Linked DNA regions of Homo sapiens: regions 1, 2, 3, 4, 5 and 7 are each linked to region 6. Evidence: promoter capture Hi-C in 16 types of primary human blood cells and fetal thymus (Javierre and others, 2016). All regions are on one chromosome and are shown on one strand. Each heading gives the region's core, a stretch centred on a gene start or on the middle of the fragment in contact. The rest is flanking DNA. Distances are from core to core; before and after follow the strand shown. Region 1 overlaps SHB (SH2 domain containing adaptor protein B). Region 2 overlaps SHB (SH2 domain containing adaptor protein B). Region 3 has its middle 39 kb from the start of SHB. Region 4 overlaps SHB (SH2 domain containing adaptor protein B). Region 5 overlaps SHB (SH2 domain containing adaptor protein B). Region 6 holds the start of IGFBPL1 (insulin like growth factor binding protein like 1). Region 7 overlaps SHB (SH2 domain containing adaptor protein B).

The links. The method cuts DNA at HindIII sites, captures the fragments that hold promoters and counts their contacts. A CHiCAGO score of 5 or more calls a contact.
Region 1: a fragment that was not itself captured here is called in contact with the fragment with the promoter of IGFBPL1 in region 6 in 1 of 17 cell types (total CD8 T cells); the score reaches 6.8 in total CD8 T cells.
Region 2: a contact is called between a fragment that was not itself captured here and the fragment with the promoter of IGFBPL1 in region 6, in 2 of 17 cell types (naive B cells and total CD8 T cells). The highest score is 5.7, in naive B cells.
Region 3: a contact is called between a fragment that was not itself captured here and the fragment with the promoter of IGFBPL1 in region 6, in 1 of 17 cell types (naive CD4 T cells). The highest score is 5.2, in naive CD4 T cells.
Region 4: a fragment that was not itself captured here is called in contact with the fragment with the promoter of IGFBPL1 in region 6 in 13 of 17 cell types (naive B cells, total CD8 T cells, naive CD8 T cells and 10 more); the score reaches 22.0 in naive B cells.
Region 5: a fragment that was not itself captured here is called in contact with the fragment with the promoter of IGFBPL1 in region 6 in 1 of 17 cell types (total B cells); the score reaches 5.0 in total B cells.
Region 7: a fragment that was not itself captured here is called in contact with the fragment with the promoter of IGFBPL1 in region 6 in 6 of 17 cell types (naive B cells, activated CD4 T cells, naive CD4 T cells and 3 more); the score reaches 8.9 in naive B cells.

The regions. Positions count from the first base shown.
Region 1 is chr9:37,979,944-37,982,731 of GRCh38, forward strand. The region is part of intron 2 of SHB (SH2 domain containing adaptor protein B); the gene reads right to left. Among named protein-coding and RNA genes, the nearest start is that of SLC25A51, 77 kb to the left of the region's middle. The HindIII fragment of the contact is 257 bases long and covers 1,182-1,438 here.
Region 2 is chr9:38,004,041-38,006,843 of GRCh38, forward strand. The region is part of intron 2 of SHB (SH2 domain containing adaptor protein B); the gene reads right to left. Among named protein-coding and RNA genes, the nearest start is that of SHB, 64 kb to the right of the region's middle. The HindIII fragment of the contact is 5,190 bases long and covers 1-2,803 here.
Region 3 is chr9:38,106,732-38,109,431 of GRCh38, forward strand. No RefSeq gene overlaps it. Among named protein-coding and RNA genes, the nearest start is that of SHB, 39 kb to the left of the region's middle. RefSeq lists an enhancer at 1,080-1,259. The HindIII fragment of the contact is 2,334 bases long and covers 102-2,435 here.
Region 4 is chr9:37,921,891-37,924,590 of GRCh38, forward strand. All of the region lies in intron 5 of SHB (SH2 domain containing adaptor protein B), which reads right to left. Among named protein-coding and RNA genes, the nearest start is that of SLC25A51, 19 kb to the left of the region's middle. RefSeq lists enhancers at 464-563, 1,310-1,921, 1,422-1,716. The HindIII fragment of the contact is 3,831 bases long and covers 1-2,700 here.
Region 5 is chr9:37,957,456-37,960,243 of GRCh38, forward strand. All of the region lies in intron 3 of SHB (SH2 domain containing adaptor protein B), which reads right to left. Among named protein-coding and RNA genes, the nearest start is that of SLC25A51, 55 kb to the left of the region's middle. The HindIII fragment of the contact is 725 bases long and covers 992-1,716 here.
Region 6 is chr9:38,422,917-38,425,733 of GRCh38, forward strand. IGFBPL1 (insulin like growth factor binding protein like 1) reads right to left here and starts at 1,538. Exons shown (of 5, transcript NM_001007563.3): 1 at 1,049-1,538. The coding sequence starts at 1,508. It overlaps LOC105376041 (a long non-coding RNA gene), which reads left to right and starts at 1,695. Exons shown (of 8, transcript XR_007061487.1): 1 at 1,695-1,834. RefSeq lists an enhancer at 2,583-2,817. The HindIII fragment of the contact is 4,043 bases long and covers 321-2,817 here.
Region 7 is chr9:37,938,627-37,941,340 of GRCh38, forward strand. All of the region lies in intron 5 of SHB (SH2 domain containing adaptor protein B), which reads right to left. Among named protein-coding and RNA genes, the nearest start is that of SLC25A51, 36 kb to the left of the region's middle. The HindIII fragment of the contact is 1,413 bases long and covers 639-2,051 here.

The DNA.
Region 1 (2,788 bases), core at 60-2,559, 440 kb before region 6:
AAATATTTTATTGCCAAAAACTGCTTACAATCATCTAAGCCTTCAGTGAGTCATCTTTTTGCTGGTGGAGGGTCTTGCTTTGATGTTGCCGGCTGCCGACTGATCAGGGTGGTAGTTCCTGAAGGCTGAGGTGGCTGTGGAAAATTTTTTATGCCCCTCCCCCCAGCTGTGGGAATTTCTTAAAATGAGACAATAAAATTTGCCACATAGATTGACTCTTCCTTTCACGAAAGATTTCTCTTAGCGAAAGGCTGTTTTATAACATTTTACCCACGGCAGAACTTCTTTCAAAATTGGAGTCAATCTTTTCAAACTCTGCTGCTGCTTCATCAACTAAGTTTATGTACTATTCTAAATCCTATGTTGTCATTTTAACAATGTTCCCAGCATCTTCATCAGGAATAGATTCTATCTCAAGAAAACTGTCTTTGCTCATCCATAAGAAGCAACTCTTTATTTGTTCAAGTTTGATCATAAGATTCCTGCAATTCAGTTACATCTTCAGACTCCACTTCTAATGCTAGTTCTCTTGTTATTTTCATCATATTTGCAGTTACTTCCTCCACTGAAGTCTTGAAGGCCTCAAAGTCATCTGTGAGGACTGGACTCTTCTTCCAAACTCCTGTTAATGTGGCTATTTTGACCCCTTTCATGAATCACAAATGTACTTAATGGCTTCTAGAACAGTAAATCTTCCCCAGAAGGTTTTCAGTTTACTTTGCCCAGGTCCATCAGAGGAATCACTATCTCTGGCAGCTATAGCCTTATGAGATGTATTTCTTAAATAATAAGACTTCAAAGTTGAGATTACTCCTTGATCCATGGGCCGCGGAATGGATGTTGTGTTAGCAGGCATGAAAACAACATTCATCTCCTCGTACATCCCCAGCTGAGCTCTTGGGTGACCAAGAACAGTGTCAATCAGCAGTAGTATCTTTAAAGGAATCTTTTTTTCCTTAAAGTTGGTCTCAAAAGTGGGCTTAAAATATTCAGTAAACCATGCTGTAAACAGAGGAACTGCCATCCAGGCTTTGTTGTTCCATTCACAGGGCACGAGCAGGGTAGATTTAGCATAATTCTTAAGGGCTCCAGGATTTTTCAGAATGGCAAATGAGCACTGGCTTCAACTTACAATCACCAGCTGCATTAGTCCCTAACAAGAGAGGCAGCCTGTCCTTTGAAGCTTTGAAGCCAGGCATTGACTTCCCTATGGCTCTGAAAGTCCTAGATGGCATCTTCTTCCAATAGAAGGCTGCTTTGTCTACACTGAAAATCTGTTGTTTTGCATAGCCACCTTCATCGATGACCTCAGCTAGATCTTCTGGATAACTTGCTGCAGTTTCTACATCAGCACTTGCTGCTTCACCACACACTTCCATGTTATGGAAATGGCTTCTTTCCTTAAACCTCAGAAATCAACCTCTGTTAGCTTTTCTGAAGCTTCCTCCACTCTCTCAGCCTTCACAGAATTGAAGAGTTAGGGCCTTGCTCCAGATTAGGCTTTGATTTAAGGGAATTTGTGGCTGGTTTGAGCTTCTATCTAGACCAAACTCTCTCTCTAATAGCAACAAGGCTGTTTTGCTTTCTTTTCAATTGTGTATTCGCAGGAGTGACACTTTTAATTTTCTTCAACTTTTCCTTTACATCCACAACCTGGCTAACTATTCGGTGCAAGAAGCCTACCTTTTGGCAGATCTCGGTTTTTGACATGACTTCTGCACTAGGCTTATTTCCAAGATTTTGGTTTAAAGTGAGAGATGTGTGACTCTCCCTTTCCTTTGAACATGTAGAGGCCATTGTTGAATTATTAATAGGCCTGATTTCAACATTGTTGTGTTTTACAGAATAGAGAGGCCCAAGGAGAGGGGAAGAGATGAAGGAATGGTCAGTCAGTGGGGCAGTCAGAACACACATAACATTTATTAAGTTCGCCATCTTCTGTGGGTGCAGTTTGTGGTGCCCCAAAACAATTACAACAGTAACATCAAAGATCACTGATCACAGGTCACCGTAACAGCTATAATAATAAAAAGGTTTGAAATATGAGAATTACCAAAATGTGACACAGAGACACAAAATGAGCACACGCTGTTGGAAAAATGATGCTGATAGACTTACTTGAAGGAAGGTTGCCACAAACCTTCATTTTGTAAAAAAAAAAAAAATGCAATACCTGCAAACCACAATGAAGCAATGCACAATAAAATGAAGTATGCCTAAACATTTTATTATGGAGAGTCTCAAAATCTGTATTTTGAAAGAAGATGGGCCAGATGTGGTGGCTCACGCCTGTACTCCTAGCGCTTTGGGAGGCCAAGGGGGGTGGATCACCTGAGGACAGGAGTTCGAGACCAGCCTGGCCAACATGGTAAAACCCCGTCTCTACTAAAAATACAAAAATTAGAGGGGTGTGGTGGTGGGCACCTATAATCCCAGCTACTGGGAAGGCTGAGGCAGGAGAATTGCTTGTACCCAGGGGGCGGAGGTTGCAGTGAGCTGAGATTGCGCCACTTTACTCCAGCCGGGGCAAAAGAGCAAAACTCCGTCTCAAAAAAAATGGATAAGTAGGCCGGGTGCAGTGGCTCACACCTGTAATCCCACCACTTTGGGAGGCCGAGGCGGGCGGATCATGAGTTCAGGAGATTGAAACTATCCTGGCTAACATGGTGAAACCCCGTCTCTACTAAAAACAGAAGAAAAAAAAAATTAGCCAGGTGTGGTGGCACACGCCTGTAGTCCTAGCTACTCGGGAGGCTGAGGCAGAAGAATCACTTGAACCTGGTAGGCG
Region 2 (2,803 bases), core at 27-2,526, 420 kb before region 6:
TGCCTGCCCTGCTCCTGCCTGGGCTTTGGAACACAACTCCCAGGTTCCTGGAGGTGCTCCCAGGCCCCCAGCTGTTGCGGAAGCCTCTGCTCCAGGTTTCTTACTGGAAAATGGAAACAACCCAGGCGCTCCCTCCCTGGGCCTTAGGGAGGCTTAGGAGAGATGCTGTGAAGGGCATGAGAGCACAGGGCTTCAGTAAACACCACCTGAGCAGAAAACTGAATGCCAGCTGGCCTGGTTCTGCCTTGAGCCACAGGCACCTGGGGAAAGCAGCAGATCGGGAGCCTGAAGCATGCAGAGGCTTCTGGGGAAGGTGAACCTGAGCTGCTGGGGGCTGCGTGGGACTCGGAAGGGAAGGGCCGCGGTGGAGCTGAGTGAATAAAGATCTGCTGAGGAGGTGGGCGCCCCCCAGCCCACCCTCCCAGGGCTGTGCTGGCAAAGGTGGGGGGACCAGGCCAGAGGTGTTCTGAACTGGGCAGCAAGAGGCTAGAGCTGAAGGCAGGCATGATGAAGGCCATTCACTTCAGGAAGTTGAGGACTCCAGAACCCAGCCTGAGGGGCAGAGGGTGGGGAAGGGGGACCCAGGGGCCAAGAGAGGCCCACTAGGGCAGCATGAAGACTTGGAAGGCCCCCGACCTGGTGAGGAGTTGCCAGAGAGGGTAGCTTCACGGAGGGCTGTGTGGCTGGGGGCACGGGCACATGAGTGCATGTGCCAGCGTCCACGCAGAGACTCGAGGCTTAGCAGATGGGAAGGAACACGGCCACAGGCCAGCAAGTGAGAGATCAGCTGAGGTGCCAGGGACAGGATACACACTGCCCCATTGGCCAGGGCAGAGGTGAGCCGGCCCAGCAGGCATGAGACCCAGTTCTGGGAGCTGAGAGATTTGTGGGGGATGTTTACTCACCATGTGCACACATCATTCCACCAAAACCAGCAAGTTCTGGATGAGGGGACATTCTTCACCAGAAAGTTCCAGGCCAAAACCTCAAACACAGGGCACCGACAGTCTGAGCACAAGACACCCTGGCCCCGGCCTGTCCTGTCATCCTGCCCTCCAGGGGTTCCCAGTCTAGCAGATACATCACAGTGGACATGGTGAGGGCTGTGACGGCATATGGACAGAATGGGGTGACGTGGGCAGTAGGAAAAGAGAGGCCCAAAAGTTGAGGCTTGGGCTTGGGAGACGGCCCCTCTTTCGGTGCTTTAAGGTGGCCAGGTACAATTACACGCCTATACCCTGAAAGGGAGAGTGAAGAGGTGGCATTTTATTTCCTTCTGCTCAGCTGCCTGTTTTGGAAAAGGACCACAGCCAGCCCTCACTAACCACAGGAACGCAAACGGGCCAAGCTGGCTGAAAGGGAGAAGGCAGGACTCTCCAGGAGATGGGGAAGAGCACTGAACCTGAGGCACCGGCTACATTGCCGCCACCAAGGGAGGACTCAGACCTGCTGTTACTCAGCATCCCTCCCTTGCATCACCAGGCAGTGATCCCTGTAGGGAGAAGGGGCCAGAAGTCCTGTCAGCCACCAGGACTCAGCTTTCTCATCTGCAAAATGGAAATCATCTCATCTGCTTCCTCTCGGAGCCTTAGGGAGAGTCCTGGTATCATATATAAAAGGTACCCTTTAAACACAGACTGCTGTCATCTCTGTAAGTTTCCAGAAAGCCAGCCTGAGCCCTACTTAGAGGAGAGTACTAATTAATTAGTCAAATAATAGGGTGTGGGGCAAATCACGGAATCTCCTCCTTCAGGCTTCTGAAAGGCAGGAACTGTGGCCGGCTGTCTCCTTGGCCACTCCCTGCATACTACTCCTCTCCCCAGACCAGAAACACAGGCCAGGACTTCTCATGGTGGCCCCCAGGTCCCTGGAATAGTTTGGGGCCCTCCTCTGATCTGACTCCAGCACCTTCCCTAACACATGAATGCATTCAATCTCTCCCAAGCACCTAGCTGGCTGCTCCCACCTCAAAGGTGACCACATCTCAACTCTGACTCCTCCCCAGGAACCTCCCTTCCCTACTCAGATAGGACAGGCCCCATCAGGTGACTGACTTTCCCATCCTCCCACTAACAGAGGACCCCACTGGTGGTGTCATCCCACCCTCTCCTCTCCCTTCCACACAGCACCCACTGGCTGGTGGGCCCTTCCACCACACCTACCCTGACTCCACAGCACCTGACCTGGCCTAGATGATTGCTATAGCCTCGGAACCATAGAACCTGTCTCCCTGCCTCTTGCTAGGCGCTGCAAGATTCCATCCCACACTCCCAGGCGGGCCTGTTTTCCTAAATGACTTCCTAATCGTGCCACACCCCTGCAGTGTGGGTTTCCGCAAGGTTTCCACACCCTGCCCAGCACGCAGGGAGCTGGGCGGGTACAGGATGCAGGAGCTTTGCTGCAGATTAATCTGAGTCTCCCTGAGCCTATTTCAGGACAGGTATCTCCATCAGTTTCTGCACTTTCAGATCTTTTAATGTCTCTCTGGGATTCTGAAATGCAAGGCTGAGGCAGGCCTGGGGAGGTGAACTCCTCCATTTCACATTCCTATTCCTGTATTTCTACCTTGGGTAAAATGCACGTTTCTCTCACAGCTGCCAGGAAAGACAAGGAGTTAGGGATGTGTTCCGAGGGGCCTGAGCCCTCGCTGACAAACGCTCAGCAGGACTGCAATCTGTTTGTTGGGCCCTCACATCTATGAGGCTTAGTGCCAGCAGCACGGGGAAAACCAATGGCAACCCTCAGGGCCCGTGCTCCTCTACTGGGGCCAAGGACAGAGGAACACACCTGCCAGCCACTGGGC
Region 3 (2,700 bases), core at 19-2,518, 320 kb before region 6:
CTATGCAATGGTACAAATATTATTCTTGTATTGAGTATGAGGAAACTGAAACACAGAGGGGTTTAGTAACTTGCCCAAGGTCACATAGCTAATAAGTGGCAAGCTTGGATTTGAACCCAGGGAGGCTGGCTCCTGAGAGAGAAGGAGCTCGTAAACACTATATTTTAGGGTGTCCCATATAACAAAGACTTACTTTCTTTGGATTTTTTTACCAAGTGATCATTCATGTAATGTATGTATGGACACTGTCACAGAATGTGCAGGTCAGTCAGGACAAAGTGGGAAAATCGGACACTTGATATCTTGATTCCTTCCTTTCCCCTTGCGATTTTACAAAGAAGGAAATTAAAGCCCAAAGACGGGGCAGGGGACCGGCCACCACCAGGAGGGTGATGGGCTCCCTGCCTCCCTCACAGTTTTGGCCGGGTGCAGTGGCTCACACCTGTAATCCCAGCACTTTGGGAGGCCGAGGCAGGTGGATCACTTGAGGTCAGGAGTTCAAGACCAGCCTGGTCAACATGGAGAAACCCCATCTCTACTAAAAATACAAAAATTAGCCAGGCATGGTGGTGCATGCCTATAATCTCAGCTACTCAGAAGGCTGAGCGGGAGAATCACTTGAACCCGGAAGGTGGAGGTTGCAGTGAGCCAAGATTGTGCCACTGCACTCTATCCTGGGTGACAGAGTGAGACTTTGTCTCAAAAGGAGAAGAAAAAAAAAAAAAAGGGCCCAAAGACGCATAATGACTTCCTTAAGGTTACAGCATGAAAACCAGACTGGAGGTCAGAACTCAACCCCCAAGCTGGGCTTTTCCCAGTATCATTCTTCGTTCTTAATGAGCCCTGTATCAGACTCTTAAGTGGTTCTGAACTCTCTTTCTCTGTCTTTGTTTCACAGTCCAAAGTCTTCTTAACCAGAAAGTGCATTTCCTCTTCAGTACCAGTAACCCCTGGTTCCAACTGCGTCAAAAACACTCCCTAGGCTTTCTCATGGCTGTCTTACCTGCTTTGCTGGGGCTATTTATGGAGGAAGAGCACAGGATCTGTTTTGCCTTTCATCAGAGTCAGGATCAGAGCAGAGAGGCTAGGACACAAACATTGAACCCCGAGATCCGGACCACATGACTAGGGTGGCGGAAACTGGGGCCCAGCCACAGCCAAAGCCATGGGGAGGCCATGCCAGCACAGCCATCACCCCATCATCTCCTCCCCTGGCTGTTCGTCTAATCCTCAACAGTGCTGAGATGCCACAGACTAGAAAGTGCTACAAGAAACCACACGGATTTGAGTGTCACAGTTGTGTGTGAAAAATACTGAACCAACTCTGGACTGGGAGTCAGGAGGCCTGGCTTCCGGGCTTGGCTCTTCCACTGACCAGCTATGAAGGTCTGGGCAAGTTGACACGCCCCTCTGGGCCTCTGTTTTCTCATGCGTGATAAGAGGTTAATCAGCTGCTTGCCTATCCTCACAGGATTACTGTGAGGCTGAAAAACAAAAGTGACAATGCTTTGGAGATAACAAAGCAGTGTAAAGATGTAAGGAATATTGTCATTGCACTGAGCTGGACCCAAGGTAGCAGCAGCTCTGGATCTCCTGCCCTGGTGATAAAGAGTTGTAGAAAAGGCTTTATCCACTCCCTTCTGCCATACCAAGACCTGCTCCCTGGAAGAGATTTGGGCAGTGGGAAAACAGAGCCCAGCCTGGGATTGTTTCCAACACCATGTGTTGGCTCTTTGGAGCACTGTGCCAGGAGTCAGGAGCCTGGGCTTTGGGCCCTACTCTACTGCAAACAAGCTGTGTACCCCAGCTGGGCTACAGTGTGAAAACCTGACTCTGCTAGTGTGGCCTCCCCATGACTGTGCCCAGGTCACCCCAGTCACATGGTCTGGATCTTACGCCCAGCATTCCTTTCCTAGTCCCTGTGCTCTGATCCTAACCTGATTAGAGCCAAATGAATCCTGTGCTTTCCCTCCATAAACAGCCCCAGCAAAGCAGGCTGAGCTAAGTGCTGCCACGTAGCCTCTCTTGGCTTCGGTCAGCTCTAAAAGTCTGATGCCACAATCAGATCATCAGCTTGAACACAGGGAGGTGGATCAGCTCTGAGATCTGAGGAAGGGGAAAAATGGTGGAAAAATACCTACTAAGCATTAGGTCCTTTCCATGTAATTGATCTCACCTCATTTATTCAGCCCACGGTTATGCCAAGCTCTGCGGCTGGTGCCGGGTACCGGCCATAAACAAGACAGACCTGGTTTTCTGGAGATTACAGTGAAGCAGGAGAGGTGGGCGTAAAACAAATGTTCACACAAATGCAGAATGACAATTGTGGTAATGGTACAAGGAAGAGAATAGAGCTATGGGGAGGGACCTAACCAGCCCATTATGGAGCTGAAACTTGACAGAGAATAAGTAGATGCCCAGCTAGAAGGGGGCTAAGCTTCCATGCAAAGGGAACAGGCGTGAAGGCCCTGAGGTTGGAAGGAGATTGCCATGACCCAGAGACCAAGCAAGAAAGCAAGTGTGTGTAAAATGTGGTGAGCAAGAGGGGCTGTTGCTGGCACTGATGTTGAGGGCCTGGCTGAGCTCTTTCTCTTGGCTATACTCAGAAGCAGAGGTCTTGATCTTAATCTTGGCATTCCCCCCTCCACCCCCACCCCCCCCTTTTTTTTGAGACAGGATTTTGCTCTGTCACCCAGGTTG
Region 4 (2,700 bases), core at 161-2,660, 500 kb before region 6:
CAGCAGAAGAGTTAAAAAGCTGAGCTCTCAGAGCCACATGCCCAGCTTTGCCTGGAGAAGGGGTGTGGAAGGGCGAGAGAGCAGGGCTGGTAAGGAGGGGCTGCAGGTGCCAGGGACACTCAGCAGGGAGGAGGGTATGACCCTGGGCACATCATTCCCCTCTGCGTGCATGCACTGAGTGGCCTTACGTTTTTGGGGTGCTGGACCAGCAGGCTTTGTGATTCTCACAGATCTATACCTGGGGGACAGAGTGGAGGAGGTGTCAGGCAGAGGGTCACAGCCGCTGGCGGGAACTGAGTCTGCCAGTGTGCAGGTATGAAGCTGCAGGGGAACAAGCCAGTTTCATTTTCAAGGTTAGGAGAGTAACTCACATGGGTGAAGGCAACATTTCATATGAATTTGTTCTACGGCATCTGGCAAGGGAAGTGGACAGTGATAGCAGCAATGGCTCTGACAGAGTCCGAAGCAGAAGCTAAGCTCCTCTGTTCCCAGGTTAGGGGCTTAGAATGGCCACCAAGTACTAAAAGCCACACAATGTCCTCTGTACCTTGGCTGCCGACAGATAGCGAGGTGGGGCAGCTGCCAGGCTGAAGAGAGTCTAGACGTCCCCGGGAAGTCCCTCCTGCCTGTCTGAGCCTGCTGTTTATCACCCCCAACACACTCCTATCTCGCCTGTGTAAGCACCCACGAGTTTACCACCCTGAGCCAGGCTGTGCCGATGGGGCAGACTGGTCATGAAGCTCAGAGACCAAGGCAGAGCTGGGACCAGCACTTGGGCTCCATGAACCTCTAGTCTGTGGCCTGACCATTCTCAGGCAGAGGGAGAAAGGCGCGTTCACATGCTGACCCTCCTGGGCTCAAGCACTGCACCCCGTGGGTTCCCTGGCCCTCAGGCTATCCTTGTGCCTTGCTGGGCTCTGTCCCTTCTCCTGCTGCATCCACAGGGAGGCTGACTAGATGACCCTGGGGGGTACTTCCAGCCCTAGATCCTGGATTCCACATGTGCAAAACATAATCTGCTGCCTACCCGCTGAGGGCTTCCTGCAGGAAGGGGTCTGCAAGCAGCCTCACACCTTCCCTCCACCGCTGCCCTCATCCCCAGTCCTGCTTTCACTGGGGCATTGGCCAGGATTGCCTTCAGGGACAATCCTTCCTGTAGGCCAGGCTCTATGTCCTGAAGCACCGAGGTGCAGAAAGGGGAGGTGTCTGGCCCAAAGTCACACAGTGATTATCAGCAGCAGATGCCCAGAGTCAGTGCTCCTGACCTCAGCACTCCCCAGACCTGAGAGAGGGCCTCATGTAACCCTCAGTGTTCCATGTGAAGCCAGGCAGAGGGGGCGGATGAGAGGCGTCAGACTCTGAGCAAACATCCCCTCCACGCTGATCTTCCGCCTCCACAGCGCCCATGGTGCAGGGCTGACGGCAGGTCAGAGACAGCAGAGGGGCTGGGAGTAAAAGACAATGTGTGGCACCCACACAAGGGGCTGTGCCGAGGATTGGAAATGGCATGTTCTGATTGGTGGAGCCCCCCAGCCTGAGAGGCAGGGTGGTGACCGCCCCCCCAGGGGTCCGAGGTCCCGAGACTATCTGCCAATCCTCGACCAATGCAAGGGTCAGGTGACGCCTTGTCCACACACAGCCAGGAGACATGCTGTGACAATACATTCTCATTGGTTAAGGTCCCCATGAGGGAGATGCCATCTAACAGTTGAAGATTTAAAAGCAGCTGCCAGGAGTGGCTTCAGTGACTCCCACCTTCACACAAAAGGAGACGCGAGCATGAGCAAAGGAAGCATGAGCACTTCTGTGGAGAACAGAGGGGTTCATCAGGCAAGGAGTATGGCTGCTCCAGGCAGCATGTATTCTGAGCTGCAAGCAGCCTGGGGGTCACCTCTCACTCCCCTGGGGTACCGTGGAGGAAACTGAGGCCAGAGAGTACACTACCCTGGCCCAAGGCGCACAGCAAGGCAGGCTGCAGGTGAACCCAGAGCCCCGGCCCCGCATCCCGAGCCAGCTGAGCCGGGCTCCGAGCCACATCTCCTCCCACCCTTCTTCAAGGCAGCATGGGCTTCCACACCTCGGCACCGTCATCAGCACCATCGTCGTTCAGGGAGGGCATTGCCCCCGGGGAGCTTCAACAGGCTGCTATGCCTGCCAAGCTCCTGCATCAGCCACATCTCCTTTGATAGGACATCTTGCGAGGGCAAAGTCACAATGAGAGGTGTCTCTGGTGGGTGACCTGTCTAATGAGTCTTGTAAGGCTGGCAGAGGCCGGGGTGCTGGAGCTGTCACAGGCGTTCAGATCGCTCATTATCATCACAAAAAGCACCTCCTCATCATCAGGATTATCAAATGTGCCGGGCACGCAGGGCTAATAACAGGCCCCACCTTGCAGCGCAATCACGGGCTTTAATAAAACATTACTCAGCCTGCAGCTGCCGGCCGCCGAGCAGGGTGCGAGGCCTCACCTCTCGCTTTTAGACCTAATTGCTTGATGCATATTTCATGAAGAATCCTGGGTAATAGTTATGTTAAATCGCTTCTTTTCATGATGAAATGACTTAAAAATACTTGCATATAATATTTATGCAGGAGAAGGATGGAAATTGGCCTTTGGGACTAATGTGTGGGACCCAGTTACAGGACTCCAGACACAGAGGGGATTTCTGGTTTACCTTAGCTTGAAAGGTGCATGGGGAG
Region 5 (2,788 bases), core at 104-2,603, 470 kb before region 6:
TCTAAGACACTCTTTCTCCATCAACCACTTTGGAAAACAGTGGGAAGGGAGGCTCTTGCCAACAGAAGGCTCCAGAGACACCGGACCCACCCACTTTCTGGACTGTGCTGAGCGTGTGGCCAGCCTGCTACCCAGCAGTGACACCAACAGGTAGTCCACCCGCGATGACACTCCTAACCACTTATCCACATGTACTAGGCACACTTCAAGGCTGGGAAAATAGTGATGGGCACAACAGACAGAGATACCTGCCTTATGGAGCGCAGGGTCCTCGTGAGGAGAGACAGGCAATAAATCAATCTGCCTATCAGTGGCTGGGGACAAGTGCCACTGAGAAAAATACAGCAGGGCAGGAAAGCCCTCTCCAAAGGTGACATCTGAATAAATATCTGAAGGGAGGAAGGAACATCTGTAGGAAGGACACTCCAGGCAGAAGGAAGAACAAGTTCAAGGGCCCTGGGGTGGGACTGTGCCTAGAGTGAGACACAAAATGATCCAGAGTGACTGGAAGGGAGTTGGGAAGGAAGCTGGGCTTCCTAGTCTTGGGAAGGACTCTGGCTTTGTTCTGAGAGACGTGGAGAGCCGTTCTGACTGGGCGCTTCCTTACAGGATTGCTGTGCTGAAAAGAGATGGAGGCAAGGGGTGTATGGGAACACTCTGGACTCTGTCTGATTTTGCTGTGAACCTAAAACTGCTCTAGAAAGTATAGCTGGCTAATTAGAGGGACAGAGAGCATGTGTACACGGGCACACAGGAGGGCAGCGAGGCAGTGCCCGCCAGTGGTCAGATCCAGCCACATTCTGCAGGCAGAGATGGCAGGACTCGCCTGTGCATGCAAAGTGCACCATGAGAGGAGGACTACGGGTGACCACAGGCTGAAGTGCAGCATCAGAGAAGGACGACTACTGGTGACCACAGGCTGTTGACCTAAGCGCTGGAAGGATGGGCTGGCCTTACCTATGAGAGGAAGACTCACCAAAGGCCCTAATTAAGCTTCCAGAAAGCAGCATGGAGGCCATGCCTTAACCTAGAGACACCCACAGCTCCGTGATGCCAGGGCTGGTGGTGTGGAGAGGAGGCAGAGTGAGGACTCGCTGGGGGTTCCTGCCCTTCCTTCTGGCCACAGTTCTTTCCTGTGTCCAACTACACACAGACAGCAATGACCTCAAGGCCTTCCCAGGGGACAGGTCCTGGGGCTGGAGAGTGAGAAGGCCCTTTCCCATCAGCTAATAAGGGGGCTTTTGTGATAGTGGCCTAAAACCTGGAGCTGGGGCCCTAGCACACACATCACCACCAGCATCTACCCCTCGCTGGCCTTCCAGTAGCCTGGATCTCCCAGTGGGGTTCTGGCTGAATGACGGCACCCTGATGGCAACCAATCATGGGACATATGGTCTTGGACAGGGGGTTGGGAGAAGGAGAGAAAGAGGTGAAGCAGGTTCTTACCCGAGCCCCTACTTTGCAGAGCCCTCCATGGGTGACCTTGGGCAGGGGAGAGCACTGGGGCTAGACAGACAAATTGGGGCCATGTCATCCTGGAGCCCCTTTCTAAAGAGCTTGGACTTGAACTTATAGATGGGGATAATCAGAGAATGGGCTTTAGAGACCTCTCTGAGTGCTGGTGGAGGGTGGGTTTGGGGTCAATCCTGAAGACGGGAAGACCAGTCAGGGAAAGGTGATGGAGGCTGACCCCCTCAATGACGGGAGGGATGTAGAAGCTTGACTACTTGTGGGAGTGAGTCCGGGATAACTGCTGTGTGATGCCCAGATTTCTGGCTTGGGGGAGGGTGATGCCCCCATTGGGATGGGCACAGAAGGGGATGTGGTCAGGGAGCATGGGACTAGCCTGCACTTCTCCATGATGCCTCCCTGCTGCTAATTTTCTGGTTGTCAGGAATAGAGAGGATACAACTCAGCAGGCATCCTGGCCCATAGGGCTGCCAGCGTTGAAGGGCTGCGGCTTGCCCTGGCATAGGAAGGGGACTAAGCTGGAAGTGAGGTTCTAGGCTTAGTTTTGCCACAGGCTCAGGAGACCGAGGGACCAGATGAATTATAAGTCACTTTCACTCCTGACATCCTGGGGCTCCACTGGCTAAAATCAGGATTGGGGGATTTCTGCCAATATAAATCTCTACAATCGACATCCCGACACAGAAGGTGAGCAGAGAGGCATGGAGCACAGAACATGATTGTGGAGGGAGCCCAAGCTTTTCGGCACAACCCAAAAGGCTCTCTAGGACCCGGCTGCTTGTCCAGCCTCAGGTCCACCAATCTCTTCACCTCACTAATACCACTTACCCTCCAGAGGTCACCTATTTCAGGAAGCCTTCCTGGACCTCACCTCTCCCAAGACTCACCTTGATCTTAGCACCCTAACTGCATGTCCTACCCTGGCTCCCGGTGAGCCCCCTGAGGGTAGGGGCTGTATCATGTGCCCCTTCCCCCATACCTAGCCCATTACCGGCAACATAACAGGTGCTCAATAAGTGATTAAATGAAGAAACTTAATGAACTGCTGTTTAGCTTTATTGGGAAAAAAAAATCGGTTTCATACCAGATAAATTGGATAAAAACTAGTAACGTCCTAGTCAACAATGTAATTCCCCACTGAAATAATTTACACATTTGCTGGCAAGCTTAATAATATAGCCATATATCTTAGAGAGAACAGGTGGTGATGAGTGACAGGCTTAATTAGGCAAATCATTTCACCTAAAATACAAATATACAAACTCCAAGTGCAGTGATTCGGCAGCCTAAGAAAAAAAATGTTAAGAACAAAAGCACC
Region 6 (2,817 bases), core at 288-2,787:
CACTGACTTAGGCACTAAAGTCTGGACTTGGTCTCTGGGCTCAGGCCAGAATTATTTCCCAGAAGCCTGAACTCCAGGCCGAAACCCAGGCTCCTTGGGACTCACTGGCCACCTTCTCACTCACCCTAAACTCAGCACTGCCCACTCCAGGCAAAGTACACAGCGGCACTTCAAAACCTAGTGGGTGGAATACACTCATGCTTAGGAAGCCGGTAAAGCAGTGCTAACGTTTTGGTTTCTTTTTGTTTGGTTTTCAAAAGGTACATAAAGAGGGTGGGCAACTATAGCACTCAGAGATTATTTTACTGTGATGTTAATGAAGCTTAAGTTTCTAAGTCCCTAGCATTTCATAATAAGTTTCTAAGTCCCTAGCAGTTCTATTCCTTTACTTAAGGCAGGACTCTCCAAATTATATATGTTTTAGAAGCACGAAACCTGAGTCTGCCCCTAATAGCACCACAATCTTTTCAGACCTTACGTCTCCAAAGGTCTTACTTCTCCTGGATGGAGCTCCCTCAGCATCCCAGCTCAGCCCCTTCCCACACCGGGGGCCCTGGTGCTCTGGTGCTGTGGCCTGGTGACTACTGATTCCCCAGTCTGGAACTCATCCTCCTCCTGCATCCTCAACTTCCCTTCCTCCCCTATCCTCTACTTCCCTTCCTCCCCCAACCTCAACTTCCCTTCCTCCCCATTCAAACAATCCACCTAGCGCTGGATACCTGGGAACTCGGATCCCCCTCCTTAACTCCCAGTCTCCTGCTGGGCAAACATACCATGCCTACAAATAAGTGACTGCATCAGCAGGTACTTAAGTACCAAAAGGGGTAGCAGGCTCACCAAAAATTCGACTAGCACAGTGAGTGGCGTCTCCAAGGATTCTCGCCCCAGTCTCTCTGAGCACGAGGAGAGATATGAAATACTGCTCCCTAAGGGGAAACTGAGTGCCAGGCAGCGCCGTCCACCACTGGGCAGGGGGATCCTTCGCTCCACACCCCAGAGGGTTGGAATCCCTCCTTCTCTACCCACCCAATCCCCGACCCTGACTCACCGAACTCGCAAGGGCCGTCGCGCGCCTTGTGCAGGTGACCGGGGTGCGCGCGGGGCGTGTGCCGAGCGCGCAGGCGCAGCGCGCAGACGCTGGGGTACGAGCGACCGTCGGAGCCGCAGACGGTGCCGCGCTGCGCGCACACGCAGAGCCCGGTGCCCTCGGGCGCTGCCCCAGCGGCCTGGCTCGCGCATACCAGGCCGGGGCCACAGCGCCCGCCGGCGCGGCCCCCGCAGCTCGCGCCCTCGGCTCCCAGGCAGCGGGCGCAGCAGCCGCACTCGTCGAGCGCCGAGATCCCGGGCGCCGGGCAGGGCGCAGGCGCCGGGCAGCCCTCTGGCCGGCACGGACCACACTTGGGGCGCCGGCCGCCCACGTCGCGGATCCCAAGGCTCGGGGACAGCGGCGGCAGCAGCGGCAGCAGCAGCAGAAGCAGCAGCGGCAAGAGCAGAGACAAGCGCGGCATGGCTTGCTCCGGGACAGCGGCGGCGCCTCTGCTTCGCGCTCCGCTCCGCGCCCGCCGAGCAGTCACCGCTCCCGCCCCGCGGCCGCTGATTGGCCGGGCCTGCACCGCGGGGCGCCCGCAGACCGCTGCTCCAGCCCGGGACCCGCGCGGTGCCCGCGGCCCGGGTCTCCGAGCTGGAGGGTCGCCCCGAGAGCAGCTCTCCGACCTCCGATTGGACTCTTGAGGGAACCGAGACCCAGTCGGGGCGACAACTTGCCCGAGGTCGCTATGGCAGAGTCAGGATTGGATAACCGTACGGTCTCCGGATCCAAGGCTGGCTCCAGATAGTATGCCCGTAAATCCTCCCAGAAGGATGCGCTATTTTATTTAATTTTATTTTGCATTCAGTAGTTTTCAAAGTTTTATTTTATAAAGAGAATATATGGTTTAAAATGTAGATTTTACATATACATCTAAGGATGAAAAGAGGGTTACCCTACCACCTTGTATCCCCATCCTCCAACTCGGCTTCCAGAGGCCACTCTTGCTATCGGGTTTTTGTATATCTTTTCAGAAATTTTCTCTATGCCTATAAAAGTACATGTGCCTAAAAAAGCCCCTTCCTTTAAAACACACACACTCTGTTTCTCTCTCACACACACAGAGTAGCGTGCCATACACATTAGTCTGCACTTGGTTTTTGCACTTACAGTGTTTCACAGTTTCCCCACCTCTTGTCATCTGTGAAACTGGGTTTCTTATACAATCAATGGGAGCATAGTTCATTGGCTCTGTGAGTGTGTTTCTTAATGCTGCATAAAGTCATGGTACATCTCCGTCCACAGTGACTTTGTTGTGATGAGATATGGTGATATATTTTGGAGTTCATACAGAGTGGCCTTTCCACAGGGTTTAGTTGCAGTTATTTAACCACTTATTTTCCATCCTTTGGTTAATACGAATAATGCTTTGATGAAGTCTTGGTGCACAAGGGTCAGTGTACCTGTGGCTTACTGGGGAATGCATGTTGGAAAGATGCAGTTTCTTGTAGTCAGTTATTCATGCCGCCGTTGCGCCTTCTCTGGGCCAGGCTCTGTGCACACCATCCTGCCTGAGTTCTGGCAGGGCACCCAGACGAGAAACCTAAGAGAGTCTTGGCTGCTGGGATTTGATGTGTTGCTGGGTAAATGCACTGGATGGAGGGAGGGACTCGCTGAGCAGGTTTTATAGGAGACTTTTCCTGCCTTTACTGGCCACCCCTCATGTGTCTTGTGCTCTATTGTTTTTTCTTTGCTGAACTCCTGGAGATGGAGAAAGCCTCTTGCAGCCT
Region 7 (2,714 bases), core at 95-2,594, 480 kb before region 6:
GTGGGCTGATACGAGACAATTAAAAACCGGCTGGAAATGTAATCGCGGCTGCTCAGATGCTGGAGAAGACCAAGGAGCTCCGGTAAAACAAAGGGCACTGCTCCATCCCTGGCTCAGACGGGAGACGCAGCAGTCCAGGGAGGGAACCCCAGCCTGTTGACGGGCACGTCTGGCACTGCCGGGTTGGGGGGTGGTGCACTGGGCCGTGAACTGGCAGAGTGAGGCAGAATGAGAGCAGGCACCTCTTGCCTCTGCGTTTTAGGCAGCATTGGGAAGGGGGAAGCTGAGCTGCAGGGAGTCTGTTTTCCTGGTCTTTTCCAGGTCTACGTTGCAGCCGGGAGAGCCACTATCCACCCAGCTGCTCCGAAATCTGGATGTGGTCCTTGACTCCTCACTCCTCCTCCCTCTCATCAATTCTACCTCCACACACCTCTCCTTTCTACTCCCACTGCCCTAGTCCTTCTCTCCTGATCTATATCACACACCCAGGGCCAGATAGGGCTTCCTAAACTTCTCTCTCATCAGGTATGTAGGCCGCCTGCCACTGGCCCCTCTGAATTGGCCTTGGCCTCCTAGTTTGCTACCAGATAGTCTCAGCATCATCAGCCTAGCACCTGAGTGCAAATGGAGAACTTCTAAGCTTAGCTGGAGCAAATGGCTGAGAAGGGTCAGGAAAGAACAGTGGTCCAGGAGCTGGGCAGGCTCAGCCTCTGCCCCTCCCTGACAACACGGCCTTAAGACAGGTTAAGCCCCTTTGAGCCTCTGTTTCCTCTTCTGTAAAGTAGGAGCAATGAGTTGCGCTTTCTTCACAGCTCCTTGAGGGCTGGACCCAGAGAAGAAACTAGACTCTTCTATTTGGGTCATGGATGCTGACACTGTTGGCTCAGAACCAGCCCCTCTGGTTTCAGGTCTCTGGGCTTTCTCCATGTCACCACTGCCTGGGGAAAGGGGTCTGAGAAATGCTGGGCACAGGGCTCATGGTCACAGGTCCTGTCAGAAAATCCAGCTTTGGTCCAGAGAACTAGTTGGCCATTGGCTGGGCTTCTCAGGGCCTGCTAGGGAGGAATGGGGGTGTTTCTATTCCGAGAGACCCCACAAGGTAGAAAGAGGCCTCGAGCTGTGTTGCAATCTCATCTCTTTACTCATTAACTGTGACGTAATGTGAACACCAGTTTCTTTATCTGTAAAAATGATGGCAATGGTTGCTACTCTTCTTGAACATACTATCACAGTGTGAAAGCTGGCTATTCCCAAATATCAGGCCCTGTGCTGGGCATGCTGACCCGTATCACCTCACTCACATGTTACAGCAGCCCAGAGCAGGTGGCGGGGCAGGATTTACACTTGCTGTGCTAGAGAGTAAACAGAGGGCTCAGAGAATATGCAGAACTCAAACTAGGGTCTGTCTGAACCCTTCAGAAAGGAAGGGTGCAAATCATGGTGACTAGTTTGGGATCCCGTAACTTGTCAGAGGCAGAGCTAGGATTTGAACCCAGGTCTCCTGGGCATAGGCCCAGGGCTGTTCCTACACTCTCCACCCCCACTGCACCAGAATCACCAAAGCACCAGGCTCAGAGTCCAGAAGAGGTGCCAGTCTAATGTTGAGGGTGGCGTCCTTGGCAATGTTTTACCACCAGCAGGGCACATTTTCTCAGTAATTCTGAATAAAGGGAAATGTCATCTAATATTCCTCACAGTGTCCCCTCAATGGTGCACTCTCTTATCCTGCAAGGCATCTGCACATTCTAAAGTTCACTGTTCTCATTTAGTCCTCTGCAAAGAGTGTTTGAGGAGTCTCTGTTTTGCCTACAGCAGTGGCTTCTAATTGTGGCATTTCTTTTAAACCTTTTAGAAGGAGAAAACACGAAGCACGCTAATTGAGCAGAAAGTTCATTTTTCCTCCATGAGCCCTGAAAGGACATGAAATCCTCCATGCGATAAGAGCAAAGAGACAGACCCCCTCTTCCCCCACCACCCCTGCTGCCCTGACTCAGGCTGGCTCAAATGCTGCTAGCAAACAGCTTGCCTGCTGGGAAAGCCAGAGGCAGGCAAGCTTCTTCCTCTTTCTGGGCCTCAGTATCTCCACTTGTTCAAGATATTGGACCAGAAAATTGAAAAAGTCTCTTTCTGTTCCCTAAACCCCAAGATTTCTGCTTAGGGTATTCCTGGAGCTGCTACCTTGACTGGCTGCCAACATGCTTCCCTATGAGATGAGGAGGCCAGACCACAAGTTCGGAAGATGGGCAGGAGAGCTGGAGGGGCAGCAGCATGGTGATGAAAAAGGATACCTGTTGAGTGGTCATCATCTCCAGCTCCTGATGAGCAACTAGGAGGTCAGAGAAGTTCACTCATTCATCCAAGGTCACACCAAAGCACAACGTACAGAGTGCAAGAGAGGTGAGAGGTTCAAGACAGGTTATCCAGGAAGAGGGGAGCCTGGATTGGACTCCAGTTCTGTGAGATTCTCTAGCATTCTTTCCAGCTGTAGCCAATAAAATCTAGAACCCATCATCGTAAAGGACAGTGGATGTGGGCACAGATGGAGACTTCCAGGTTGAACCCAGACAATTTGCAATGCACTGGGACACACCGAGCTCTTTCCCCAACAACCCGTGGCTCTCTGAGGTCCATAATAAAGACATTTGAGCTACCACTGATAGAGCACTCACTATATGCTGGAGCATATGCTAAGCACTTCACATATATTGTGTCTT